Regions from separate parts of the Homo sapiens genome. Here region 2 is linked to region 1. Evidence: promoter capture Hi-C in 16 types of primary human blood cells and fetal thymus (Javierre and others, 2016). All regions are on one chromosome and are shown on one strand. Each heading gives the region's core, a stretch centred on a gene start or on the middle of the fragment in contact. The rest is flanking DNA. Distances are from core to core; before and after follow the strand shown.

Region 1 (6,504 bases), core at 2,967-5,466:
AGCTGGGACTACAGGGGCATGCCACCACGCCTAGCTAAATTTTTTTTTTTTATTTTTAGTAGAGATGAGGTCTCCCTATGTTGCCCAGATTAGTGTCTTAACTCCTGGGCTCAGGTGATCCTGCCACCAGGGATTACAGGCACGAGCCACCATGCTGGCCCTTGTTTTTTGTTGTTTTTTTTTTTTTTTTTTGAGACGGAGTCTCGCTTTGTCGCCCAGGCTGGAGTGCAGTGGCGGGATCTCGGCTCACTGCAAGCTCCGCCTCCCGGGTTCACGCCATTCTCCTGCCTCAGCCTCCCAAGTAGCTGGGACTACAGGCGCCCGCCACTATGACCGGCTAATTTTTTTGTATTTTTAGTAGAGACGGGGTTTCACCGTTTTAGCCGGGATGGTCTCGATCTCCTGACCTCGTGATCCGCCCGCCTCGGCCTCCCAAAGTGCTGGGATTACAGGCGTGAGCCACCGCGCCCGGCCTGTTTTTTTTTTTTTTTTTGAGACTGAGTCTCGCACTGTCGCCCAGGCTGGAGTGCAGTGGCGCGATCTCGGCTCACTGCAACCTCCACCTTCCAGGTTCAAGCAATTCTCCTGCCTCAGCCTCCTGAGTAGCTGAGATTACAGGTGCCCACCACGATGCCCAGCTAACTTTTTTTTTTTTTTTGGTATTTTTAGTAGAGACGGGGGTTTCACCATGTTGGTCAGGCTGGTCTCGAACTCCTGACCTCGTGATCCGCCCGCCTTGGCCTCCCAAAGTGATGGGATTACAGGCGTGAGCCACCGTGCCCAGCTTTTTTTTTTTTTTTTTAAGAGACGGGGTCTTACTATGTTGCCCAGGCTGGACTCTCAAACTCCTGGGCTCAAGGAATCCTTCTACCACAGCTTTCTGAGTAGCTGGGGCTACAAGCCCCTGCCACAGTACCTGGCTGTTTTTGTTTTTTTATAATTGTGGTAAAATATAAACAACATGGCCGGGTGTGGTGGCTCACGCCTGTAATCTCAACACTCTGGGAGGTTGAGGTGGGAGGATTACTTGAACCCAGGAGTTCAAGACCAGTCTGGGCAACTTGGCAAAACTGTGTTTCTACAAAAAATAAAAATATTAGCTGGGCAGCCAGGCGCAGTGGCTCATGCCTGCAATCCCAGCACTTTGGGAGGCTGAGGTGGATGGATCACCTGAGAGGTCAGGAGTTTGAGACCACCCTGGCCAACATGGTGAAAACCTGTCTCTTTAAAAATACAAAAAAATGAGCCAGCCATGGTGGCTCACGCCTGTAATCCCAGCACTTTGAGAGGCCAAGGCAGGTGGATCACCTGAGGTCAGGAGTTCAAGACCAACCTGGCCAACATTGTGAAACCCCGTCTCTACTAAAAATACAAAAAATTAGCTGGGCATGGTGGCAGGCGCTTATAATTCCAGCTACTAAGGAGGCTGAGGCCGGAGAATCGCTTGAACCCGGGAGGCGGAGGTTGCAGTGAGTCAAGATCGCACCATTGCACTCCAGCCTGGGCAACAAGAGCGAAACTATGTCTCAAATACATACATACATACAAAAAATTAGCCGGGTGTGGTTGCCGCACACCTGTAATCCCAGCTACGCGGGAGGCTGAAGCAGGAGAATCGCTGGAACCCGGGAGGCAGAGGTTGCAGTGAGCCAAGATCACACCATTGCACTCTATCCTGGGTGACGGAGTGAGACTCTGCCTCAAAAAAAAAAAAAAAAAAAAAAAAACTTAACCATTGCAGCCATTTTTAGGTGTACAGTTCAGTGGCATTAAGTACATTCACACTGTTGTGCAACCATCCCCACTATTTGCAGGATGTCTTCGTCATCCCAAACAGAAACTCTGGGTGTTTTCAATCTGCTGATGATTGCTACAGAGGAATTCCAGGGGACATCTGTTGCGCACCTACTGTGCTCACGCTGGGGCCTCTGGGATGGACAGGATTCTGCCAAGGCAGACATCTGGGTCAAGACAGTCCTGCACAGTTGTTCAGGTTGTGGCCAAGGTTGCGTTTGCAGATTTGCCATGTAAAAATACAGGATGCTCAGTTACATTTGAATTTCAGATTAATAGCAAAAAAAACTTTTTGGTATAATTCTGAAATATTTCATGGGACATATTTATACTAAAACGTCATGCACTGTTGATTTGAAATTCAAATGTAATTGGGCCTCCTCTATTTCGTCTGGCAAGCGTAGACAAAAGAATCCAGTCCAGGCCAGGCGCAGTGGCTCAAGCCTGTAATCCCAGCACTTTGGGAGGCCGAGGCGGGCGGATCACGAGGTCAGGAGATCGAGACCATCCTGGCTAACACGGTGAAACCCCGTCTCTACTAAAAATACAAAAAATTAGCTGGGCGTGGTGGCGGGTGCCTGTAGTCCCAGCTACTCGGGAGGCTGAGGCAGGAGAATGGCGTGAACCTGGGAGGCGGAGCTTGCAGTGAGCCGAGATCGCGCCACAGCACTCCAGCCTGGGCGACAGAGCCAGACTCTGTCTCAAAAAAAAAAAAAAGAATCCAGTCCATAGTCCCCTGAGCCATGTGCCCTGGGGTGCAGCTGGGTCCTTCAGGAGAAAAATGCTCTATTTCTGGCACTGGGACCGAGCCTGATGTGGGTTTTTTGTTGGTTTTTGTTGTTGTTATTGTTTTTGAGACAAGGTCTCGCTCCACCACACCCGGCTAATTTTTGTATTTTTAGTAGAGACGGGGTTTCACTACGTTGGCCAGGCTGGTCTTGAACTCCTGACCTCAAGTGAGCCGCCTGCCTCGGCCTCCCAAAGTGCTGGGATTACAGGTGGGAGCCACCGCCCTGGCCCTGGGCCTGATGTTGATGACCTCCTACTATGTGCACCTGCAGCTCTCCTGCATAGGCCTCAGCCGTCCTGCATGAGGACACTGGGAGGCAGGTGCTCCCTATCAACCCCGTGTTACAGTTGAACAAACTGAGCCCCAGAAAAGAAAACGTATTTGCCCAGGTCACACGGTGAAGAAGTGAGGGATTCGAAGCCCAGGTCCATCTGAAGCCAGAGTCACCCAGAGGAGAAAGAGTTGGAATTGAGAACTCAAGGAATGCTTGGAAGTGATCGGGCTCGAGCCCACCTAGGAAGAAACAGAGGCTGGAGACATGAGACTGTGTTGCTATTTCCTCTCATCAACCCTTGGGCCCTATTGAGGCCCTACCACAAGCCTGGCCCTGCAGCCCAGTGACTAGGAGAAATTAGACACAAGATAATAATAACAGCAATGATCTTTTTTTTTTTTCTGAGACGGAGTCTTGCTCTTTCGCCCAGGCTGGACTGCAGTGGCGCGATCTCGGCTCAATGCAAGCTCCACCTCCCAGGTTCACGCCATTCTCCTGCCTCAGCCTCCCGAGTAGCTAGGACTACAGGCGCCTGCCACCACGCCTGGCTAATTTTTCATATTTTTAGTAGAGATGGGGTTTCACCGTGTTAGCCAAGATGGTCTCAATCTCCTGACCTCGTGATCCGCCTGCCTCGGCCTCCCAAAGTGTTGGGGTTACAGGCATGAGCCACCGCGCCTGGCCAACAGCAATGATCTTTGAGCACCTATATTGCCAGTCTCCACGGTAAGAGCTTTCTTCATTTTTTGTTTTGTTTTGTTTCAAGACAGAGTCTTGCTCTGTCACCCAGGCTGGAGTGCAGTGGTGTGATCGCGGCTCACTGCAGCCTTCACTTCCCGGGTTCAAGCCATTCTCCTGCCTCAGCCTCCCAAGTAGCTGGGATTACAGGCACGCATCACTACTTCTGGCTAATTTTTGTATTTTTAGTAGGGACAGGGTTTTTCACCATGTTGGCCAGGTTGGTCTCAAACTCCTGGCCTCATATGATCTGCCCACCTCGGCCTCCCAAAGTGCTGGGATTACAGGCGTGAGCCACTGCGCCTTTCTTTGTATTTGTTCAAGTAATATACTGAAATATGTACTGTGCCTCCCACTTTATGGAGGAGGAAACTGAGGCCAGCAAATGAGGCTGTCATGGGAGGTGGAGACAGGATTTGAACCTGCCTCAGTGCAGGAGGCTCAAGAGCCTCTGTCTTCTCTCAGGGCACTGTGTGGGAGGGTGAGAAGGAGGGAGGCCCACAGAGGCATGACCTCTGATTGCCACTGTCACCTGGGCCCTGCTCTCTGAAGTCTCTGCCAAGCGGGGAGGTGGCCGGGGGAGGGCCCTGCTCTGTGCAGCCTCCCCTCCCCCGGCCCGCAGAGTTGAGCACAGAGGGACAGAGGCACGGAACCCCCAGAAATGTCCCTCCTCAGAAACAGGCTCCAGGCCCTGCCTGCCCTGTGCCTCTGCGTGCTGGTCCTGGCCTGCATTGGGGGTGAGAAGAAGTGGGTGGAGGGATGTGGGGCCCACACCTGGTGGGTGTGAGTGTGGCTGTGTGTCCTGTGGCTCTGTAGCCACGTGAGACATGAGTACGGAGTGTGTGCGTTTCATGGCGTGCGTATGCATGTGCGTGTCGGGGAGTGTGTGTGTCGGTGGCTGAGAGTGAAGTGTGAATGTCACATTGGTACAAACTGGGATCATCTGTGTGTGTGCACGTGCGTGCGTGGAAGTGGGAGTATGCAGTCGTGGTAAAAAAGTGCATGTCTGTGTGCATATGTGTATTTGTGTGCACCTGTCTCTCTGTGGGGTATGTGTGTGCAAAATATTTGAGTGTGTGGACATGTGTGAGGGGGTGAGTGTGTGCTGGTGTGTACGTCTGTGTTTTGCATATGCATTTTTTTTTTTTTTTTTGAGACGGAGTCTCACTCTGTCACCCAGGCTGGAGTGCAGTGGTAGCAGTGGTGCGATCTTGGCTCACTGCATCATCCGCCTACCCGTTTCAAGGGATTCTCCTGCCTCAGTCTTCAGAGTATTTGGGACTACAGACACACGCCACCATGCCTGGCTAATTTTTTTTTTTTGAGACGGAGTCTCGCTCTGTTACCCAGGCTGGAGTGCAGTGGCGTGATCTTGGCTCACTGCAACGTCCGCCTCCCGGGTTCACGCCATTCTCCTGCCTCAGCCTCCCGAGTAGCTGGGACTACAGGAGCCCACCACCACGCCTGGCTAATTTTTTGTATTTTTACTAGAGACGGGGTTTCGCCGTGTTAGCCAGGATGGTCTCCATATCCTGACCTCGTGATCCGCCTGCCTCGGCCTTCCAAAGTGCTAGGATTATAGGCGTGAGCCACTGCGCCTGGCCAATGCCTGGCTAATTTTTTTATATTTTTGGTAGAGACAGGGTTTTGCCATGTTGCCCAGGCTGGTCTTGAAATCCTGACCTCAGGTGATCCGCCCGCCTTGGCCTCCCAAAGTGCTGGGATTACAGGCATGAGCCACCACGCCCGGCCATGTACTTTATGTTAAAATGGGATCATATTCTAGATCAGCATTATCCAGTAGAAATTTAAATTTTTAATACAGGGCCAGGCACGGTGGCTCATGCCTGTAATCCCAGCACTTTCGGAGGCCGAGGCGGGTGGATCGCAAGGTCAGGAGATTTGAGATCATCCTGGCTAACAGATGGGTAAAAACCCATCTCTACTAAAAATACAAAAAATTAGCCATGCATGGTGGCATGCGCCTGTAGTCCCAGCTACTCGGGAGGCTGAGGCCGGAGAATCACTTGAACCCGGGAGGCAGAGGTTGCAGTGAGCCGAGATCGCGCCACTGCATTCCAACCTGGGTGACAGAGCGAGACTCCGTCTGAAAAAAAAAAAAAATTTAACACGTATGTAGACAATGTGCAAGGCACCATTCCATGTGCATCGTATGTAGTAACTCTTAATTCTCACGATAACCCTGAGGTAGATATTATTACCCCGTTCTACAAAAGGAGAAACAGTCCTGGGGAGACAGGATAAGTCACCGGCCAAGGCACACAGCTAGCTACATGTGGCCCCCGCGTGACGGCTGGTCTCTGTAGGCGAGGCTTTGTCCAGATGCGTGGGTAGAAGGTCTGGCCCGGAAAGAGGAACTGACAGCAAGGCTAAGCCAATGTCTGCCCCTGGGGGCAGAAAGTCACCTCCTGCTCTCCCTCCACTGTCCACAGAGGTAGCTCAGACAGGGTGGGGGTCACAGGAGAACGAAGGGAGAAGGGGGTAGTTCCTGGGCAGCAAAATCAGGTGGTGAAGGGAGGCATCAGAGGATGGCAATTAGAGAGGCCATTAGAGGGGAACCACAGGCAGACAGGGTGACAGGAGGGACTACTGACACAAGGTGAAGAGATGGCCCAGCCGGACGGGGTGGCTCACATCTGTAATCCCAGCATTTTGGGAGCCCGAGGTGGGTGGATCACTTGAGGTCAGGAGTTCGAGGCCCCAACATGGCAAAACCCCATCTCTTCTAAAAATACAAAAATTAGCCGGGCATGATGGCAGATGCCTGTAATCCCTGCTACTCGGGAGGCTGAGGCAGGAAAATTGCCTGAATCCAGGAGGTGGAGGTTGCAATGAGACGAGATCATGACACTGCACTCCACCCTGGGCAACAGAGCAAGAGACTGAC
Region 2 (6,039 bases), core at 2,347-4,846, 240 kb before region 1:
GACGGCCCCCTCTGCCTCGCCCAAGATAAGGGGAGGTTGAAAGGGGTTTGGAAACCTGCTTCAGCCTAAGACATTAGCTCCAGCCAAACCCTCAGTCTCAAGGCCTCCCCACCCCTGCCCAGAGAGGACAGGACAAGGATTCTGCCACGGAGGCCCAAGTCTGACGTTTACATCTAATATATATTGATGATGTCAGTGGTGGGCAGGGTCTTGAAGAGCAGATAAAGGAGTTCCCAGCCTCCCTCCCGCTCCCAAGGAAACTAAGTGACTGGTGAGACAAGAGGGCTGGGCGGGCAAGGGGTGACCCTGACCAAACAAGGTCATAGACCCGTGTCCCCAGATGGCTGTGCAGAGAAGATAAGACTCATCTGCTCCAATCTTATGAGGCAATGGCCCGGGGCCTCAGTTTACTTGTCTGCAAAATGGGTTTTCTTGGGGGTGGGCAGCGGGGAGATGGATAACAGGAAAAGCTGAAGCTGTCAAAAAGAATAATGGGCCAGGCACGGTGGCTCACACCTGTAATCCCAGCACTTTGAGAGGCCAAGGCAGGTGGATCACTTGAGGTTAGGAGTTTGAGACCAGCCTGGCCAACATGTCAAAACCCTGTCTGTACTAAAAATATTAAAATTAGCCAGGCATGGTGGCGCATGCTTGTAATCCCAGCTACTCGGGAGGCTGAGGTGAGAGAATCGCTTGAACTTGGGAGGTGGAGGTTGCAGTGAGCCAAGATCGCACCACTGCACTCCAGCCTGGATGACAGATCAAGACTCCATTTAAAAAAGAAGAAGAAGAAGAAGAAGAAGAAGAATGATATCAGCAGAATACATCTACAAGCTGACCACTTCTCCCATCCCTGGTTCAGCCGCCACTACCTCCTGCCTGGTCCAGCACTACCCAACAGGAGCAAGAGTGGAGCCGCAAACACAATTCAACCTTTTCCAGCCTCATCTCATGAAGAAAGGTGAAACGAATGTATTTAACACAACATATGCAAAATGTCATTTCAGCACAGAATCAATATAAAAAACTGATTATCTGTTTTACATTATTGTGTATGCATGCGCTCTTTTTTTTTTTTTTTTTTCTTAATGAGACAACAAGGTCTTGCTCTGTCGCCCAGGCTGGAGTGCAGTGGTGAGATCACAGCTCACTGCAGACTCAACCTCCTGGGCTCAGGCGATCCTCCTACCTCAGCCTGCCAAATAGCTGGGACTACAGGCGTGCAACACCACTCCTGGCTCATTTTTAAATTTTTTTGTAGAGACGTGCTCTACGCTGCCCAGGCTGGTCTCGAACTCCTGGGCTCAAGCCATCCTCCCGCCTCAGCCTCCCAAAATGCTGGGATTACAGGTGTGAGCCACCGCGCCCGGCCCCCCTTATTGAACCTCTACTCCAATGTCGCTCTGACAATGTCGCCTTGCTGCCCTGCATAAACCAGTGCCCCGACCACCTCCATCCCTTCCCCTGCTTTATTTTTCTCCACAGCATTGTCCCCACCTGTTCTAACACTGCTCATGTTTGTATTCGTCTATTAACTGTCTCCCCAATCAATAGGTCAGCTCTGTGTCTACCGTATTCACGGCTGTAACCCCACAGCGCCTAGCGCAGTGCCCGGCACATAGTTGGTGCTCCATAAACATTTGTCAAATGGTGGAGGAACAACGACCACTGTGCCCCCAGTACGTGCTCTGAGGCAGGCCCGGCACGGAACACTCCATGTGCCTATTTTGATCCTCAGAAGAGTCCCAGGGAAGTCAATGTCATGAACACCCCCCACCCACTGCACAAACAGGAAAAAGCCCCTGCCCACAAGAACCCCGTCTGCTTTCTGCGCAGCCCGGCGGCGCACAGCAGGTGCTAAAGAGCCTGCAGCTCTTGACTGAACCAAGGATCTGGGCTCACAGCCGGGAGCACCAGAGGAGGGGCCAGGGAGGTGGAGGATGGGGGCAGACTAGGAAGGGTGGATGTGACGATAGAGGGCCTCTAGAGCCCGGCCTGGTCACACTCCGCAGGCAGACAGCAGATCACCAGGAACCTGAGCCTCTCTGAAGACTCCTCTCTCTGTGTCATCCACACCTGGTGTCCAGTTCCACAAACATGCTGTGAGCCTCTGCTCTGTGCCAGGTGATTTGCTGGGCAGTGCTGGGGACACAGTGGTGACAGCCCAGCCGTGCCCAGCTGAGGCTCCCAGGCCAGTGGGGGAAAAAGACCCAGCCCCAGACAGCGAGAACCCAAGGCAGTCAGGGCTGAGACAGGGAATTCCAGGCCCTGAAGTCCAGGAGGGCTTCCTGGAGGAGAGGGTTTGGGGAAGGCAGTGGAATAGAGCAGAGGGAAGCAGGGATATTCTGGGTAGAGTGCAAGTGAAACAGAAGAACTGAAGCAGAGGGTTCCCGGAAGCAAGTGGTATTCTATGTAGCTGGTCAGGTGGGCAGGAGTCAGGCCGGGCAGGGCCTCCTGGGCTACAGTGAGGAACCTGGGCTTCCTCCCAAGGGCACTGGGGAGCCACAGCAGGTTCTGAGCACGGAGGGGCAGAGGCAGGTTTTTGTTTTGGAAAGAGCCTCTGTCTGCCATGTGGAGGGGCAATGGGAGTCGGGGAGACCAGGGCCAGAGACTAGGGAGGAGGCTGGTGGGGAGACAGGAGGACCCAGGCAAGGTGGGGTGGTGGAGTGGTCACCTAGACCAGGGCAGGGGCTTCAGGGAGGGAGAGAAGATATACGTAGAGTCAGTTGCCAGAAGGGGTGGCGTGTTCGGGGAGTAGGGGGAGGCATCAGGGATGAGGCCCCAGGTCTCTTTTCCCAGCGATGAGGTGGGTAGTGGCGCCTTCCCTGATAAGGGCACCAGGGGAAGATACACTTCTGGGGGAAGATGCCAAGGTCAGTTTGGGACAAGGTGAGTGAGAGGTGCCCAGGGACATCAGGGAGGCATCCTGATTGATACTGGGATGAGGTCCCAGTGCTCTGGGCCAGGACGCAGAAGAGTGAGGTGAGGTCACAGGTGGGGAGAGGGGAGCAGGAGGCGCCAGGACATCCTCTGTGCCTCTCACCTGGCCTCACCCGCACCTCCTCAGGGCCTTCTCCCCCTTGTTAGAGCCCTGCCCCACGAGGGCAGCCCAGGACACAGTGCTGGAGGCAAACCAGGACAGGTGAGCACAGGTGTGGCCCCCTGCCCGGAAGCAGGCTGCAGAGGCCTCAGAGGAACCAGGACTCAGAAGCCATCAGGATGCAGGTCATAAGAACACAGCTATCAGCAGCTCTGGCACCACAACCCCCTCGGCTCCTGCCCAGCATCATCTCAGAGACACCTTCCCTGTTACCCTCCCTCCACCCCAATTTAAAGTAGCAAACCAGGCCAGGGGCAGTGGCTCATGGCTGTAATCCCAGCACTTTGGGAGGCCAAGGTGGGAAGATCACTTGAGGCCAAGAGTTTGAGACCAGGCAGAGCAACATAGCGAGATCCCATCTCTACAAAAAATAAAATGGCAAATCCCCTTTCTGACTTTATTTTTCAATCTGACGTGGAAGATATTTACCTTTCCTTTATTTACTCCGCAAATGTCGGCCCCCTGAGGGCAGGGATTTCATCCGTCTTGTGCACGGCTGCATCCTCAGCGCCTAGAACAGCACCTGGCAAACAATAGGTGCTCATTCAGTATTTGTCCAATAAGTGAATGAGTGATTTACTGAGCATTTACTCTGCGCCAGTCGTGGTAAGTACTGTACTTCACATGTGTATCTACTTAATCCTTTCAACAGCCCTGTGATGTGAGTACTATTGTTTTCCCTATTTTACAAATAAGGAAACTGAGGCTTGGCAGAGTCCATAAATTGCCCAGGGTCCTGGAGGTAGGAAACAGTGGAACTATGTCCAGAGCCTATACTTTTTTTTTTTTGAGATGGAGTTTCACTCTTTTGCCCAGGGTTCAAGCAATTCTCCTGCTTCAGCCTCCCAAGTAGCTGGGATTACAGGTGCCCGCGACCACACCCAGCTAATTTTTGTATTTTTAGTAGAGACAGGGTTTCACCATGCTGGCCAGGCTGGTCTTGAACTCCTGACCTCAGTTGATCCACCCACCTCGGCCTCCCAAAGTGCTAGGACTACAGGCATGAGCCACTGCGTCCGGCCATGAGCCACCACGCCCGGCCAGAGCCTATACTTTTAATAACAGGCATACCAATCAGACCCACGTCCACCAGGCTCTGGCTTAAATCCCTGACTTGTAGCCTCTCACTAACTGCTGTCAACAAACCTGAAGTAGGGTCCATATCATCTCTATTTTTTTGTTTGTTTTTGAAATGGAGTCTTGCTCTGTCACCCAGGCTGGAGTGCAGTGGCAGGATCTCGGCTCACTGCAACCTCTACCTCCTGGATTCAAGCGATTCTCCTACCTCAGCCTCCCTAGTAGCTGGGATTACAGGCATGTGCCACCATGACCGGCTAACTTTTATTTTTTGTTTTTGCTTTTGTTTTTTGAGATAGAGTCTCACTCTGTCACCCAGGCTGGAGTGCAGTGGTGTGATCTCAGCTCGCTGCAACCTCCACCTCCTGGGTTCAAGAGATTCTCCTGCCTCAGCCTCTCGAGTAGCTGGGACTACAGGTGCACACCACCACACCCAGCTAATTTTTTATATTTTTAGTACATACGAGGTTTCACCATATTGGCCAGGCTGGTCTCGAACTCCTGACCTCGTGAGCCACCTGCCTTGGCCTCCCAAAGTGTTGGGATTACAGGCGTTAGCCACCACACCCAGCTAACTTATATTTTTAATAGAGACGGGGTTTCGCCATGTTGGTCAGGCTGGTTGCAAACTCCTCACCTCAGGTGATCTGCCCATCTCAGCCTCCCAAAGTGCTGGGACTACAGGCACCTGCCACCACGCCTGGCTATTTTTATTATTATTATTTTTAGTAGAGATGGGGTTTCGCCATGTTGGCCAGGCTGATCTCGAACTCCTGACCTCAAATGATCCGCCTGCCTTGGCCTCCCGAAGTGCTGGGATGACAGGCATGAGCCAGTGCACCCGGCCATCATCTCTATTTATCAGAATAATAAATGGAGACTCAACAAGGGACTGTCCCCAGCCCCACTTTGGGTAAGTGCAGAGCTGGTGTCAAAACTCAGCTCTCCTTGGCCCCAAAGCCTCCGAATACGCCCATTTGACAGAGAGGGGAAAACAAGGCCTCCGAAGTGGGAGAAAGAGAATGTGAACTTCTGAGCACTTTGCAGGAAGCCAACAAGAAGGAGAGCCCCAAAGAAAGCATGTGGCCATACAGTTTCCTGCCCTTCTGTCTGGGTTTGCACACAGAGCAGGGCTCAAATCCCCTCTCCCTGCAGGAACCCGGACAAGTGGGAGTCCCCACCTAGCTCATCTCCATCTGCAAAGGGGGGTCCTAAAGGTGCCCACTTTACAGGGTTGTTTTGCCATCCGCTGAGACAACACCTGTAGGTCCCCTGCACTGGGTGGGGCTGGGAAAGGTGCAGTCACCTTTTACTGATTTTCTTCCTTGGTGACTCCCAGGCTCTCTGAGGAGGCCACGGGCCTGGGTGGTTGGTAAGAACTACCCGAAAACCTTCCCCTACTTTTCCTCTCTTCTCCTCGGTGACCTGGTTCCTCTCCCAGTACCAAATCCAGGCCCTCGGCACAAAGAGGGTTAGGCGGCTGCCCCAGGAGGCCTGCCCAGGTCACGGCCTCTGGCCGGTGCCCGCCACACCCACCCTGGTACCCAAACCGGGCCCCAGATCCTTGGTGACTCGATCCCTCCAAATTCAGGTGATCTCCCCTGGCTCCAAATCACCAAACCCTCCCAGGTCCTGCGGCAGACGGAGCCGAGCCCCAACCAGGAAGGGAGTCCGAGCACTGGGACTTCAACGCCACCATCTCCAAGACTCGGTTTGGGGTGAAAGATGGCGCTGACTGGGTACAGCTGGCTGCTCCTCAGTGGTGAGCGAGAATGGCACCCCCCAGCACCTCAGCCCCCCGAGGACCCCAGGGAGGGGAGGGGACCCCCAGTCTGAGAGAGGGAAGGTGTGAGCAGAAGTCC

What was found. The method cuts DNA at HindIII sites, captures the fragments that hold promoters and counts their contacts. A CHiCAGO score of 5 or more calls a contact.
Region 2: a contact is called between the fragment with the promoter of CEACAM16 here and the fragment with the promoter of APOC4 in region 1, in 1 of 17 cell types (naive B cells). The highest score is 5.3, in naive B cells.

The regions. Positions count from the first base shown.
Region 1 is chr19:44,938,021-44,944,524 of GRCh38, forward strand. It overlaps APOC4 (apolipoprotein C4), which reads left to right and starts at 4,217. Exons shown (of 3, transcript NM_001646.3): 1 at 4,217-4,333. The coding sequence starts at 4,258. APOC4-APOC2 (APOC4-APOC2 readthrough (NMD candidate)) reads left to right here and starts at 4,218. Exons shown (of 6, transcript NR_037932.1): 1 at 4,218-4,333. The HindIII fragment of the contact is 22,942 bases long and covers 1-6,504 here.
Region 2 is chr19:44,695,555-44,701,593 of GRCh38, forward strand. CEACAM16 (CEA cell adhesion molecule 16, tectorial membrane component) reads left to right here and starts at 3,597. Exons shown (of 7, transcript NM_001039213.4): 1 at 3,597-3,706; 2 at 5,807-5,939. The coding sequence starts at 5,903. CEACAM16-AS1 (CEACAM16, CEACAM19 and PVR antisense RNA 1) reads right to left here. Exons shown (of 2, transcript NR_186815.1): 2 at 3,484-3,623. RefSeq lists an enhancer at 1,164-1,769. The HindIII fragment of the contact is 17,086 bases long and covers 1-6,039 here.